Linked DNA regions of Homo sapiens: regions 1, 3, 4 and 5 are each linked to region 2. The links are contacts of gene promoters, found by promoter capture Hi-C in human tissues and cell types (Jung and others, 2019). All regions are on one chromosome and are shown on one strand. The core of a region is centred on a gene start or on the middle of the fragment in contact, and the rest is flanking DNA. Distances in the headings are between cores, read along the strand shown.

The links. The method cuts DNA at HindIII sites, captures the fragments that hold promoters and counts their contacts. A contact is called where the count stands out against the background at its distance.
Region 1: a contact is called between a fragment that was not itself captured here and the fragment with the promoter of UBAC1 in region 2, in 1 of the 25 tissues and cell types used here (hippocampus).
Region 3: a contact is called between the fragment with the promoter of SNAPC4 here and the fragment with the promoter of UBAC1 in region 2, in 2 of the 25 tissues and cell types used here (dorsolateral prefrontal cortex and lymphoblastoid cells).
Region 4: a contact is called between the fragment with the promoter of PPP1R26 here and the fragment with the promoter of UBAC1 in region 2, in 1 of the 25 tissues and cell types used here (H1 embryonic stem cells).
Region 5: the fragment with the promoter of MRPS2 here is called in contact with the fragment with the promoter of UBAC1 in region 2 in 1 of the 25 tissues and cell types used here (dorsolateral prefrontal cortex).

The regions. Positions count from the first base shown.
Region 1 is chr9:136,417,699-136,420,426 of GRCh38, forward strand. It overlaps PMPCA (peptidase, mitochondrial processing subunit alpha), which reads left to right. Exons shown (of 13, transcript NM_015160.3): 8 at 319-411; 9 at 857-975; 10 at 1,130-1,220; 11 at 1,346-1,408. Among named protein-coding and RNA genes, the nearest start is that of PMPCA, 8.4 kb to the left of the region's middle. The HindIII fragment of the contact is 6,608 bases long and covers 1-2,728 here.
Region 2 is chr9:135,960,109-135,962,810 of GRCh38, forward strand. It overlaps UBAC1 (UBA domain containing 1), which reads right to left and starts at 1,265. Exons shown (of 10, transcript NM_016172.3): 1 at 917-1,265. The coding sequence starts at 1,054. RefSeq lists silencers at 875-994, 1,005-1,414 and an enhancer at 885-1,385. The HindIII fragment of the contact is 18,279 bases long and covers 1-2,702 here.
Region 3 is chr9:136,398,843-136,401,542 of GRCh38, forward strand. It overlaps SNAPC4 (small nuclear RNA activating complex polypeptide 4), which reads right to left and starts at 1,328. Exons shown (of 24, transcript NM_003086.4): 1 at 1,292-1,328. RefSeq lists silencers at 986-1,095, 1,166-1,295, 1,366-1,575, 1,726-1,775 and an enhancer at 1,541-2,477. The HindIII fragment of the contact is 18,374 bases long and covers 1-2,700 here.
Region 4 is chr9:135,478,352-135,481,051 of GRCh38, forward strand. PPP1R26 (protein phosphatase 1 regulatory subunit 26) reads left to right here and starts at 1,431. Exons shown (of 4, transcript NM_014811.5): 1 at 1,431-1,671. RefSeq lists silencers at 1,953-2,012, 2,023-2,072. The HindIII fragment of the contact is 17,940 bases long and covers 1-2,700 here.
Region 5 is chr9:135,499,282-135,501,981 of GRCh38, forward strand. MRPS2 (mitochondrial ribosomal protein S2) reads left to right here and starts at 1,401. Exons shown (of 4, transcript NM_016034.5): 1 at 1,401-1,472; 2 at 1,717-1,842; 3 at 2,563-2,692. The coding sequence starts at 1,430. It overlaps PIERCE1 (piercer of microtubule wall 1), which reads right to left and starts at 588. Exons shown (of 3, transcript NM_001048265.2): 1 at 428-588. The coding sequence starts at 570. RefSeq lists silencers at 691-860, 1,131-1,300, 1,511-1,670 and an enhancer at 1,626-2,250. The HindIII fragment of the contact is 18,925 bases long and covers 1-2,700 here.

The sequences.
Region 1 (2,728 bases), core at 63-2,562, 460 kb after region 2:
CTGCCTCAGCCTCCCAAAATGCTGGGATTACAGGCGTAAGCCACCACGCCCAGCTTATATGTATATACATATGTTTTTTTTTTTTTGTCTTTTTGGTAGAGGTGGAGTTTTGCCACATTGCCTAGGCTGGTCTTGAACTCCTGGACTCAAGTGATCTGCCCACCTTGGCCTCCCAAAGTGCTGGGATTTTAGGCATGAGCCACTGTGCCTGGCTGGCATTGGATTTCTGTGTAACCACTCTGAAGATGATCTCATCTGGGGTTTGCGAGCCCTCATTGTTTTTCACATGGCGACACTTGCTTGTTTTCTTGGTTACAGCTAGAAAGAGACATGTCCAATGTCAGCCTGGGCCCGACCCCCATCCCCGAGCTCACGCACATCATGGTTGGACTGGAGAGCTGCTCCTTCCTGGTGAGTCCTGGTGCTGGGTCTGATGGCGTTCCTGATGCAGTGTGGCCGGCTCAGCCAGCCCTGCCCTCTGTCCCTGGCATCCGACAGCGCTCCTGATGGGGCGTGGGCGGCTCAGCCAGCTCTGCCCTCTGTCCCTGGCATCCAGCAATGCTCCTGATGCAGTGTGGGCGACTCAGCCAGCTCTGCCCTCTGTCCCTGGCGTCTGACGGCGCTCGTGACACAGCGTGGGTGGCTCAGCTAGCTCTGCCCTTTGTCCCTGGCATCCGACGGCGCTCCTGACGCGGCATGGGTGGCTCAGCCAGCTCTGCCCTCCGTCCCTGGCGTCCAGCGGCGCTCCTGACGTGGCTTGGGCGACTCAGCCAGCTCTGCCCTCCGTCCCTGGCGTCTGACGGTGCTCCTGACGTGGCGTGGGTGGTTCAGCCAGCTCTGCCCTCCGTCCCTGCAGGAGGAGGACTTCATCCCCTTTGCAGTGTTGAACATGATGATGGGCGGAGGTGGCTCCTTCTCGGCTGGTGGGCCCGGCAAGGGCATGTTCTCCAGGCTCTACCTCAACGTGCTCAACAGGTGGGTTGCACTCTTTTCTGTATCCTCAGGCCACCAGGCCAGGCCAGGTGTGTTTTTGGACCATGAGGCCACCTTCCAGGTGACTTTTCTCCAGTTTCCCATGGCCTGATCCTGGCGAGTCCCCTTCACTCCCATGACTCTCGCTTCCTCCCAGGCACCACTGGATGTATAACGCGACCTCCTACCACCACAGCTACGAGGACACTGGCCTCCTTTGCATCCATGCCAGCGCCGACCCAAGACAGGTGAGGGCCCCGCCTGCCACCGTCCTCAGTGCGGTTGCCTGTCCAGACCTGGGCGTCCCTGCCTAGACGGGTCAGTAGGCCGGCAGGCGCAGGCCACACTGTTATCGTCTTGCCCTTCTTCGCAGGTTCGAGAAATGGTAGAAATCATCACAAAGGAGTTTATTTTAATGGGCGGAACCGTGGACACGGTAAGTGCAGTGTGGCGCCATTTCCAGGCGTACCTGTGGTGTCTGACAGGAGACAGCCACGTTGTAGGAGTGGCCACCTGTGGGCCTGGTCCCTGAGCCTCAGGGCCAAGGTCCCGGCAGGGCAGGGCAGGGCAGGGCGGCCAAGGAGGCACAGCCTGGGGCTGAGCTGCTCCACCTGGGAGCCCGCTGAGGCTGTTCTTCCCTGGTCCAAACCCCGAAAACAGAAAAACAGACCACCGCCCTCCCCCAGTGCTCGGTCCACTACTTCTTTCTCTGAGCCACTGGGTGAGTCGTGGGACTGACCATGTGACTCTCTCAGCTTTGCTGGCGAAACGCTGCAGGAGTTTTTGTGTCCTTCTCAGCCGCCTCTGTGAGGTGACTGGGGTGAAGCAGCTCGCACAGGTGGGCTGCAGCGTGGGGTGTCTCGAGCCTTTCCCTGGCTCCATTCTATGTTTGAAACTGTATTTGTTTACCAATTTTTTTTTGTTCTTTTTAAGATGGAGTCTCACTGTCTCACCCAGGCTGGAGTGCAGTAGCTCAAATTCGGCTCACTGCAACCTCCACCTCCCGGGTTCAAGCGATTCTCCTGCTTCAGCCTCCCAAGTAGCTGGGATTACAGGCATGCGCCACCATGCCTGGCTAATTTTTGTATTTTTAGTAGAGACGGGGTTTCGCCATGTTGGCCAGGGTGGTCTTAAACTCCTGACCTCAAGTGATCCGTTGCCTTGGCCTCCCAAGGTGCTGGGATTACAATTACAGGTGTGAGCCACCATGCGTCCCTGTTTACTAATTTTTTAAGCTTAGTTTTTGATGCTTTACACATTTGGGAACCTCGTTACTTCCTGGACCAGAAGTGGTACAAATAAGCAAGTTTTATACACACACTTTTTTTTTTTTTTAGACAGAGTCTTGCTCAGGCTGGAGTGCAGTGGCATGATCTCAGCTCACTGCATCCTTCCACCTCCCGGGTTCAGGTGATTCTCCTACCTTAGCCTCCTGAGTAGCTGGGATTACAGGCATGTGTCACCACCCTAGCTAATTTTTTTGTTTTTTGTTTTCTGTTTTTTTTTTTTTTTTTTGAGACGGAGTCCTGCTCTGTTGCCCAGGCTGGAGTGCGGTGGCATGATCTCAACTCATTGCAACCTCCGCCTCCCGGGTTCAGGTGATTCTCCTACCTCAGCCTCCTGAGTAGCTGGGATTACAGGCACCCACCACCACACCTGGCTAATTTTTTGTATTTTTAGTAGAGATGGGGTTTCACCATGTTGGCCAGGCTGGTCTTGAACTCCTGACCTCAAGTCATCTGCCCATCTCGGCCTC
Region 2 (2,702 bases), core at 15-2,514:
TCGTAACTTATCACATGGAGTCGCCACTAGAAAATTGCAGCCTCCTTCAACCTAAATTCTGCCAAGCCCTCAGATCATGTCAGGTATAGACAGGAGGTCAGTCTGACACACAGACAGGCTTCTTAGCTGACCTTACTGAGTCCTTTAGAGACTCGAGAACTAGTTCCAAAAATCAGCAACCTAAGGAACTAAATACACAGGAGTATTTCAGGTGAATAAACTTTAAAAAGTGTCTCCGCGAGGAGACCCTACTCCTGGGACTTCTCTCTTGACCAATTTTACCTCTGCAGAAAAGCAGGGGCGCAGGGCCTTGTCCCGCAGCGGCACTATTTCAGGGACTCCAGCTAAAAGGCACAGTGGCCTGGGGCCAGCCAGGAAAAGAGCTCCAAGCAGCCGGCTCTGCGGGAAAGGGGAAGAGGAAGGAGAAGGGGCCTCTTCATGAAGGAGCCTACGTTAATTCTCAGCTCTCAAAGATGCTGCTGAAAAAAAACCTCACCCCAACAGCAAAAAGGTACAACTGCCGGAAAGTCCCGAGGCCCTGCTCCGTCGGCGACTTCACTCTCCAGGCCTCAGTTTCCCGATCTGCCCCTACCTCCCTGCGTGGCTGCAGAGTTAACTGAGAGGCTGGCGTGTACAGGGCTCGGCCGGGCGGCTGGCACGGGGCGAGCGCTTAGTGACCGGAGTCCGCCGGCCGAAAGGCCAGGCCCGGGACGAGCGTCCAGAGGTGTGGGATCCGAAAGGGGGAGAGTCGGGCAAACGGGCAGGAGGCGCTGCCTCCACCCCCGGAGGAGAGGGCCTGGGAGCTGCGGACTGGGCGGCGGACCCCAGGTCGGGGCGGTTCGGGGACTGAGGCGGGGTCCGCAGTCGGAGGGGTCCGGAGCGGGTGTTGGGGGCAGGGGAGGGGGCCCGGCCTTACGTGCTTGAGGCAGCGCTCCTTGAGCTTCTCCACCGAGGTGTCCTCGGTGGCCTCCTCCAGCCACTCGGCGCCGTCGGACGCGCAGATGTGCAGCCGCAGCACCTTGCCCGCGAAGATCTTCTCCTCCTGCACGAACATCCCGCCGCCGCCGCAGGGGCCTGCGCCCGCCACCCGGGCCCCTGAAGGTCACCGGGAAGGCGGGCGGGGAGGGGGCGGGGCCAGACCGCCCGCGCGCTCCTTCGCTGGGCCGCCGCCCCGCCCCGGCTCCCGTCGGCCGGGCCGCCGTCACTCTCCGCGGCCTCAGCGGTCGCCTCGCTCCCGCCGCCGCAGCAGCCGCCGGGGGCGCGCCGTCGCGGCCGCACCGGAAGTGCGTCACGGGCGCGTCTGGCGCATGCCGGGAGATGTGGTTCTCGGACAGGCGCCTCGCTCCCGCCGCCGGGGGCGCGCTGTGGCCACCGCAAAGGAAGTGCGTCACGGGGCGCGCCCGGAGCATGCCGGGAGCTGTAGTTCTCTGGTAGCTTCGTTCCTCCCCGAGCTGCAGGCGGTTCCCACCCGGGGCACTCACCACGTGGGACCTCATGGGTTCTAAAGGTAAAATACACGCTGGATCCCAAAGAAGTAACGGGAAAAAGGAATGTAAGGCATCTCGATAATGTTTTCATATTGATTACATGTTGAAATAATATTTTGTATCTATTGAGTTAAGAAAAATATGTCATTAAAATTAATTTCACCTGTTTCTTTTAACCTTTTTAAGATAGAATTTTAAATTGCCTACATGGCTGCTGTGATATTTCTTTTGCACTGCACTGCTGTAGAACGGAGGCTCTCCAAAGAACTTGGCTTTAACAAGCCTAGGTCTTTCTAATTCACACGCAGATCAGAGAGTCACTGTTCCTGCGAAGCCTAGGTTTGCGGGGCACCCAGAGGGGAGGGAAGCCGCCCTTGGTGCAGGTGATGCCAGGCAGACTCATTTTCTGTGGGGTGTGACAAAGAGTCTTTGCTTGGCCAAACTTAAGCAGGCTCCTGAACCTTCTACATCATCTGTACACTTCCTTGTAAAATCCAGTTTTAGCGAAGAGCCTTGATAAGTGAGTTTAGCAAGAACTCCCAGCCTCAATATCAGATCACCCTGGACGTCTGGTCAGGTTCCTCGTCCCCCAGGTGCTGTCTGATATCTCCAGCCTCTCTTCAGCAAGAACCCTGTCAGGTCGGTTTAGCCAGAACCGCCCACATCCCTGATGTTTTCTCCTATTAATTTTCCATTCACTGACCCCACCCACTTGCCCTTGCTGTATTGGGAGTTGAGCCTGACCTCTCTCCCCACTGCAAGCCCCCTTGGCAGTGGTCTCTGTACCTAGCTCAACAGTCCTGGATAACGTCTTACTTACCATGCTCCTAAATATGAATTTTGTAGTTCAGGTTAGACCTGACACATTGACTGATCTGTACTCATTCATCCCATTCATTTAAAAAAACTTTACTGCGCAGAGATGAATAAGGCACAGTTCCCGTTCTCAGAGGTTAGCAATCTAACCGGGGAGGCTGTCTCTGCCTCCTGCCTGCAGGCTTTTATTCTGTCCACACCATTTTGCACACACATCCTCATTTTTCTCCTGTGATAATTCCAACCTCGTCCAGATTCCATGTGTCCAGTTCAGCACTTACTAATTGCCTCTCACAGGTGGGAGCCTCTGCTACTCAATGAAAATATGGTAGTGATTAAGACCAGACACCAGGATACAGTCCTGGAATGGGGCATTTTTAACGCAGGAAGCAGAAGTAC
Region 3 (2,700 bases), core at 78-2,577, 440 kb after region 2:
ACCCACTTTGGCCATCCTGCTCTCCCATGACACAGAGCCGGACCACAGAGGGCATTTGAGAAACGTTCACAGAGACACACACTGAGACTGCCCAGGTGGCAGGCACTAACAGCATGGTTGGGAAGGAAGCTCCCAAAGGGAAGGCTGGCTGTTCTCTGTACATCCAGAACAACGCCTGGAACGTGGCAGTGCCTGACACTAACAAATGTTTGTCAAGCTTTTTTCTTAGGAACTGTGGTCCAGGAAGTCTGAAGGGAGAAGGACGCTAGAGAGAGAGTGGGAGAATGAAACATTAGCAGAGAAAATCTAAAGGAATCACTAGCACAGACCCGGGAGCCCAAAACACCCAACAACAAAGAGAAACGCCCTCCCCCGTCCTTGGCGTGGCTCTCCCTGCTGGAGGCTGACTGGGGCCCTGCCCAACTGGAACAAAACCAAAGCATCCACCCGCGAGCACCGTTAGCCGCATCAGCAGCCCAGGTCCCCTCACTCCTTCACAAAGCCCCTTGTTTATGCCCGAAATGCTTGTGAACCTGTAAACTCAGTTAACAGCCGGCCAGAGGCAGAGCTGGCAGCGACCGCAGGCTGGTTCAGCGCCTCCGGGCCGGCGGAGACGCTTTCCTCTGGAAGCCTCACACGAGGCTGCTGCCTCCCCCTCCCCGTGTCGCTCAGGTGAGCAATGATCAGCAGGAAGGAGGTCAAAGTCACACGTGCTGAGCCACTGACATCAGGGGCTGTCCCTCTCCCCGCACCCCTCTCCCAAGGGCTGGTCATGAGGGCTGCCCACCAAGACGGAGCGCAGCAGGCGGTCCCTCCAGCCCCAGCTGCGGGGACGCCACCCAGACTCGGCTGGGCCCAGGGAACCCCAGGATGCGCCAGGACGATGGGCGTTTAGGCACTGGCTTGGGAGACAGACCCGGCCCAGGCCCAGTTCCGCCTCCTGCTCGCTGCGTGAACTGGGGAAACCCCCTCCGAGGCTCGGCCACCGCGGAATCGCCGGCGCAGTCCCCGAGACGCACGCGGGCGCCCTGCAGCCGGGGCCGCCCCGCCGGAGCCTCCTCGGAGCCCGCAGCCCGCTCCCAGCCGAGGGGCTCCCAGGGCCAGAATCCCCGCGCGCCCAGGCTCGGCCGGACGGGGGCCACGCCGGGCCTCAGTTTCCCCGACTTTGGGCGCTGCCCCGCCCCCGTCCCGGGCCTCGGCTATCCGCTCCTCGGGACAGCGCCCCCTCCACGGGGAGAGCCCTGAAGCTGCCGACGCCACCCGCGCCTCACCTGCTGGGCGCACACCTTACCTGGCCGCGCGGACCCCGCCGTCGCCCGGGCGACTGCAGACTCGACGCTTCCGGCGGCTGCAGAACAAGAGCGCCGCGCGCCGGAAGTCCCGCCTCCTGAGGCGCGGGGCACGCCGGGACGGCCGCTGCGGCCTGCCGGGACTAGAGAGGCGAACGGCTCGATGCTGCCCTCGCGCGGCCGCCCTGGGGGCCGCCTCCGCGCGCTCTGGAGGGGCGCGGGTGGACGCGGGACCTCAAGGCAGGGGACAGACAGGGACAGGCACCCGGCCACCTGGTCACGATCCGGAAGACCGGCCCTTACTGGCTGTGACCTTCGGCCATCGCTGGACCTCTCTGTGCTTGTTTCATCCTCTGTTAACGGACATGTTGGGGTTTGGTTAAGCAACGGATGAGAAAGTCTACGTGAAAGGCTTTTTCCCCAGCCTGCCCTGCATGCTCAGGATCGCCGAGGCCAGGCCGATCTCCAGGCACGTGCAGGAGACTGAGGCCAGAGGGTGGGGGCCCGCACCACACAAACTCGCTTCCCTGGTCACCTGTGCACACCCTCTGGGGTCTCCTGGCCTGGAGAGCTGCCCCGGGGCCCTCCCCTAAGTGGGCATTCATTCCTTCAGGAACGTGCCAGGGCTAACTCGGCCGGGAGCTGGGCAGGGGCCTACAGTTCCTGGCTCCTGAGAGCTTCTAAGTATCGGTGCTGCAAAGACATCCTGGGCCCAGCCAGTTGAGGGGGCCTCCACTCCAGCCTGGGGTGAGCTAGGGGCATCAGCTGGAGAACTATAAAGAGGGTTTGCCCTGCCTACCTAGGAGGTGGGCTTTTGGTGGCAAAGGGCTAGGCCCAGGTGAGGCCAAACTGGGAGCTAGGGATTGGCAAGAAACAGATGGAGGGGATGGAACCAGGCGGCTGGGGGCTCCTCGAGCGCCTCGTTTCAGTCCCTGCATCGGGCTTGAAATCTGGAGGCAGAAGGCAGGCACTAAATACCGCGCCACAAATTGTATTTTTAAACTTCTTACTATCAAACGCTTCAAACACAGACATCAAAAGAGAGGGGTGCGCAAAACCCACATGCCCATCCCCACCGCGCTTCCCTGGGCCCCACCTGCTCCATGAGCTGCTGGCATGAGGGCCAGGGGACCACCCCACTTCACACGCATCTGGTGGATGGGACCCGCCTGGCGATCTGGCCTTTGTGACCCCCACCCCATCAAATGCTGTCTCTCCCAAAGGGCCTCAGGGAAGGCCTGTGGCCTGAGGCATCCTCCCCAGATGCCCCCATCCTGCTGCTACAGGGCTCCCAGAGCTGCCTATACACTCAGAACCTCATTCCGGCACTTCCCAACCACAGCACCCTGTCTCAAGTCAGCTCTGCCAACAGAATCCAGAGCCTGCTTTCACCAACCAGCAGGAGCAGGAG
Region 4 (2,700 bases), core at 181-2,680, 480 kb before region 2:
GACAGGCAAGCGGGCATGCCCGCTCACCAGTGGGTGGACGGCAGGCTGGCCCCGCATTTCTGGAGGGCATTTTGGCAAAATGCAGCATAGTCTTTGGCCCGCCGGCCTCTTCTAGGGATTTGCCCGCAGGAAATGCTCAGAGCCGCTCTAAGGAGGCATCATGAAAGCTGTTCACCACAGCACTGTTTTAAAAACTGTGAAGCAGCATGCCAAAACCTTAACAGCCCATGTCTCTGGGAAGTCACCTTATTAATTAGATCATCTCCCCAAAGTTTGGTAATGAAAGAGTATTATTTCATGAGAAAAAAAAAATTGCTTTTTGAAAAAATTCACGAAGGCATTAAAACAATTCTTTAATGGGTTTCCTGACCCAAAACTGGCCCTCCAGCTTCCCAGGCTGGCATGACTAGAAGCACCCCTCCAAGGCAAGTCTCTGATTTTGATCCTATCAAATCTCTGACACTTTCTAGACAGGAACCGAACCCACAAATTCATCTCCCAGACACGTGTGGATCAGGGCCCAGGGGGCTTACAGAAGCAGCGCGGTGCCCCTGCGCACCATCTGCCCCTTCCACGAGTGGGCGCTGAGGGAGGATCCAGTCGGGTCTGCCCGTTCCCCGCCGCCCGGGGATGCTGAGCACACCCGGGCCACCGCCAGCCTCGGGCACACACCCTGGACCTTTTATAAAACAAAACTGGGAAGACTTTCAAGGTCACATGGTCAGTGCACAGCAGAAGCAGAAACAGCAGCGGCCTCAAGGTCCGGGGCAGTTCCTAGAAACTGTTCCCTCCCCCGAACCTGGCGGCAGGTGTGCTCGAGGAGCCGCCGCCCCGGGCAGGTCGTGCGTCCACTCCCCGCCGCAAGCTCGGGTGGGGCAGCCGCGGGGACACGCGGGGGCCGCCCCCGACCCCGGCCCAAGGCTGTGGGGCTGGAGGGGCGGGCGGGCCGGTCTCAGCCCGGAGCCCCGCGTGAACTTCGGGGAGGAACTCGGTTGGCGCCGGGGCCCCGCACGCTCCCTTCCCGCGGCTCCGAGCGCTTTCCCACGGCCACGCCCCCCGCGCCCAGAACTTCCCGGCGACCCCGCGCCCCCTGCGCGCCCCCCGGAGGTGGCCGCGGTACGGGAGGCGGGCAGCACGGGGCTCGGCCCGGCCCAAGCGCCTTCGCCCCGCACCCCGCGGAGGGGGCCGCGTCCGAACCGGGCGGGGCGGGGCGGGGGCGTCCCCGGGGCGCGGGCGCGGCGGCAGGTGGGCGCGCTCTCGCGGGCGGGGGTCCGGCCGGGCCGCGCGCCTCCCCCGGAACTCGGCCGTGCCATTCCCATGATGCCCAGCCACGGGCACGGCTTCCGGAGTGCGGCCGCCGCCGCCACCGTCCGGTAGGTCGCGGGGAGGGGGCGGCTTGGGGGGGTCGCCCCGCCCCCCGCCCCGCCCCTCCCCTCCCGCGCTTCCCACGGCGCGGCCCGGGCGCGGGGCGGCGGCAGCGGCGGCGCGCGGGGAGGCGGGGAGGCGGGGGGCCCGGCCGGACGCCCCTGCGCCCCCTCCCCGCGCCCCGGCCGAGGGCGGAGCGCGCTGGCCCTGCAGCCTCCGGCCCGCCCCCGGCCCGCCGCCTCCCCCGGGACGTGGGACGCGGGCGCAGGCGGGGTCCGCGCGGCGGGCGGCGGGGGACGGGCGGAGGTGAGCGGGTGCAGGGCCGGGGCCGGGGGGCTCGGGGGCTGGGAAGCTGGGGGGTCGGGGACAGGAGGGCCAGCCAGGCCGGGGCCGGCGCGCCGTGCAGGCCGCGGCGGGCGGGCGGCGGGGGCTCCCCGAGGCAGGCGGACGGGGATCGGCGCCGGGGCTGCTCCGTTCCCCGGGCGGGGATCCTGTCTCTGGCCTCCGTGCGACTCTCGGCCCGCGCGCCCCGCGCTCCTGGAGCCCCAGGTGAGGCGCAGGTGAGGGCCCGCGGTGGGGAGCTTTGGCCCGGCCCGGGGCGGCCGCTGCCCTCCGAGAATGGCCGCGGCCCGGCCGGCCTGGAGACTGCGGTTCACGCCCTGCGCCAGGCGGAGCTTCCGGGAGGGTGGCCGCTCTCCCGGGCCCCAAGCTCGCTAGTCCTCGGATCCCAGAAACATAACTCCGGGGGTGCAGACCTGCTTGGAGGCCCGGCCTCTTCCCTGGGAGGCGTTCACTCCCGCCGGGCCGAGGACCAGGTCGCCGATCCCAGCGGCTAGGGTGAGCGCGCCCTCGGGGAGGGGAGCTCCCTTGGGGGACCCTGCCCAGCCCGCAGGCCGTGAGTAGCCCAAGCTTGGGAGTCAGGGGAGGTCGGGCCGGGGCAGCCGGGAGGGGCTCACCTTGCCTTCAGTTCCCAAGCACAGGAAATGGCGGTGCAGCTTTGCTGGGGGACGCTTGTAGTGAGGTTGTAAAATTGCAGCTTCTGGAAGGCTGGGAGCTGAATTCTAGCCCACGCCCACTTCTGGGTGGCTGGAGCGGGTCCTCCTGCTGCCCCGCCCGCTCCTGCACCGGGGCTCCTCTCCCTGGCCTGCAGACCCTGGCCTCCCTACCCTGGGGGGAAACCCCACCTGGGAGGTAAGACCGCTGGCTGAGCTGCTTTTCGGCCAACCGAGAAATGTAGAGTATTTGGGGGCGTTTCTCACAGGTGGGCAGACTGTTAGGATGGCGAGGGCCCAGTGTGGGTGCTTTGGTTCTCTCCAGAAGGTTGATGTCTGGACC
Region 5 (2,700 bases), core at 151-2,650, 460 kb before region 2:
ATGTTTGCACCTGCCTACAGGAATTGAGTTTCTTACTACTTCTTAGCCTGCAATGCCCTGTGGCAGCTCAGAGCTGGCTGAGTCTACAGCAAGACAGTGGAGGTGCTGCTGTGCTCACGCCCCGCAGCGGAGTTTCAGGGTAGAGAGGAGAGGAGACTCACCCGACACAAATCAGTGGAGCTGAGACCACAACTGGGCTTTCTCCCCCCACGGCCCTGCCCCCCACTGCCCTTATCCCCACTTCCTTGTATGAGGCTCTAGGGAGCACGGTCGCCGCTCACTGGCGGGCGATGACAGCGCGGGCCCCGGATGACCACTCGATCTTCTTGATTTCTGTAGCTAGGACCTTGGGGGTCTTGCGGGGTCTCTCACACACGGGGCTATCGAGCAGTGGACGCCAGGACCAGGCGGGCCCCAGCTTCCTCACCTGTAGCCCCGGAACCACCCCGGGTTGTTGAACCTGCCCGGCAGGTCCGCGCTCACGCGGTAGTAGTCGCTGGTCCTCTCCGGCGGGGCCGTGGCCTTGGGCGCCACAGGCTCCGCGCACGCTCTGGGGCATTCCTCAGCCATTGTGCCTGGAGGAGAAGCGGGACTCGGCGGCGTCCTGTTGCCAAGCGACGGCCAGGTCACGTGACTGGGGAGCGAGCGGAGGGGCCTTAAAGGCGCCGCGCGTGGGCCGGGTTCCTCTGCGGGTGGGTCCGGAACCTGCCGGGCGACTCCCCAAGGGCCGGGAAGGTCGGGACGGCGAGAGATTCCCTGCTGGGACCGTCGTGTGAGGCAGCCCCAGGCCCCCAGCCACCCGCGGGGGGACCGGGCCACCCCAGCATCAGGGCGTGGACTCCCGGGCGAAAGAAACCCCAGGGCCTGGGACCCCGCCAGCCGGGTGACGGGGTTTAAGCACTGCAGGTCCACTCGGCAGGCAACGATTGGACTTTTGCTGTCCAATGTACTCCAGGGATGCTATGCCCCCCAGCACCCCGAGTCTAAATTGAGACCCGAGATCTGGCTAACTTTATGAAATTCTCCTAAGCCAAATATCGTTTAAATATTACAAACAGTTTTGGAGAGCGAGAGGTTGCGCAGGACGTGGTTCACAGCTCACTTGGCGGGAGGCGAGGGTCCCCATCGCCCAGCGGGCTTCCCCAAGGGTCAGGGGCCTCCCGGGCTGGCCGGTCCCATTAGCAGGGCGGGGCGAGCTGCAGGGCGAGGACCGTGGCTCCACTCCCCGCCCGAGACTCTCAAGCCCAGGACCCCGGGCCCTGACCCCTCGCGTGCCCCGCCCCCGCAGGGAGGTCCCAGCCGCCTGGGGACAGCGCTGTGGCTCCTCCGGGCCTGTAGGCGGCACTGCGGCCCCGCGCGGATGGCGACGGAAGGGGAGGCCGCTCGGCCTGGCCTGGAGGGAGACCTCGCTCTGCCCCGCGTCCCAGCCATGGCGACATCCTCGGCCGCGCTGCCCCGAATACTCGGCGCGGGTGAGCGCGCGCTTGCGGGACCCTGGGGAGGAGCATGCGAGGAGGATGCGGAGGGGCGCGGGGACCCGATGGAGCGGCGGGGACGTGGAGGGGACCCGGGGCGAGCGCGGAGGGGACTCGGGGAGGGCGCGGGGACGCGGAGGGGACCCGTTAGGGACGCGGAGGGGCCCGTTGGGGATGCGGTGGGGAGCGGGCGTGGTGCATTCGGGACTCGGCGCCAGGACCTCTATCTACTTCCCCCCAGGTGCCCGGGCCCCGTCGCGCTGGTTGGGCTTTCTCGGGAAGGCGACCCCCCGGCCTGCTCGGCCGAGCCGCAGGACGCTTGGAAGCGCGACGGCCCTTATGATCCGCGAGTCGGAGGACAGCACCGGTAACACTGGGCGCCCAGCCGAGTTGGGTGGGAACGAGGAGAGGCCGGCAGCCGCGGGGGATGCGAACCCTAGAGGGGCCTGGGCGCTGCACGCGGTCGAAACTGCGCGCTCCGCTGGGCTCCTCCCACTCCCGTGCTCGCCGCCGCTCGGTCCTGCCTGACGTAGCACAGCGGGCTGAGGCCACCGCCTCACCATGGATAGGGTGAGAGGGAGCGGGCGGGCCAGTGGTTAGCACAGGCTTCGCTCCCTAGGGGGGTGTCACTGGACCACCGAGGCCCGGAGCCCCGAGCTCGCCCAGGCGGGCCCAAGTGACCTGGGGGCACTGGGCTTGGAGTCTGCCCACCTTGCTGGACTCCTGATGGGGACTTTCTGGCTGGCCACCTGAGACCACAAGGCGGGGAGGTGCCAGAAAGACCTGAGCAACCCGCTGGGCCCCTCTCTTTTTCTCCTCTGTCTTCCAAGTAAGACCAAGGGACGGGGTTGACCAGGTTCGACCAGGCTTACCCAGGAGCAAGGTCGGGATCAGAACCTGGCTCCAGCCCTCTGTTTCCTGAAAAGGTCCCTGTGCTTCCAGGTCTTTCCTGGGGCTGCTGGGCTCCCGGCTCCCCACCTCGGTGTCACAGAAGGCACTTGGGAGCAGGGGTGGGCGGGAACTGCGCTCTGCCTGTCTCTGCTGCCACCGGTGGGAGACGCAGCGTCGCTCCTCCTCCCTGCCGTAGATTTCAACGACAAGATTTTGAATGAGCCCCTCAAGCACTCTGACTTCTTCAATGTCAAGGAACTGTTTTCCGTGAGAAGCCTCTTCGATGCCCGAGTCCATCTGGGACACAAAGCTGGCTGTCGGCACAGGTAGGTGA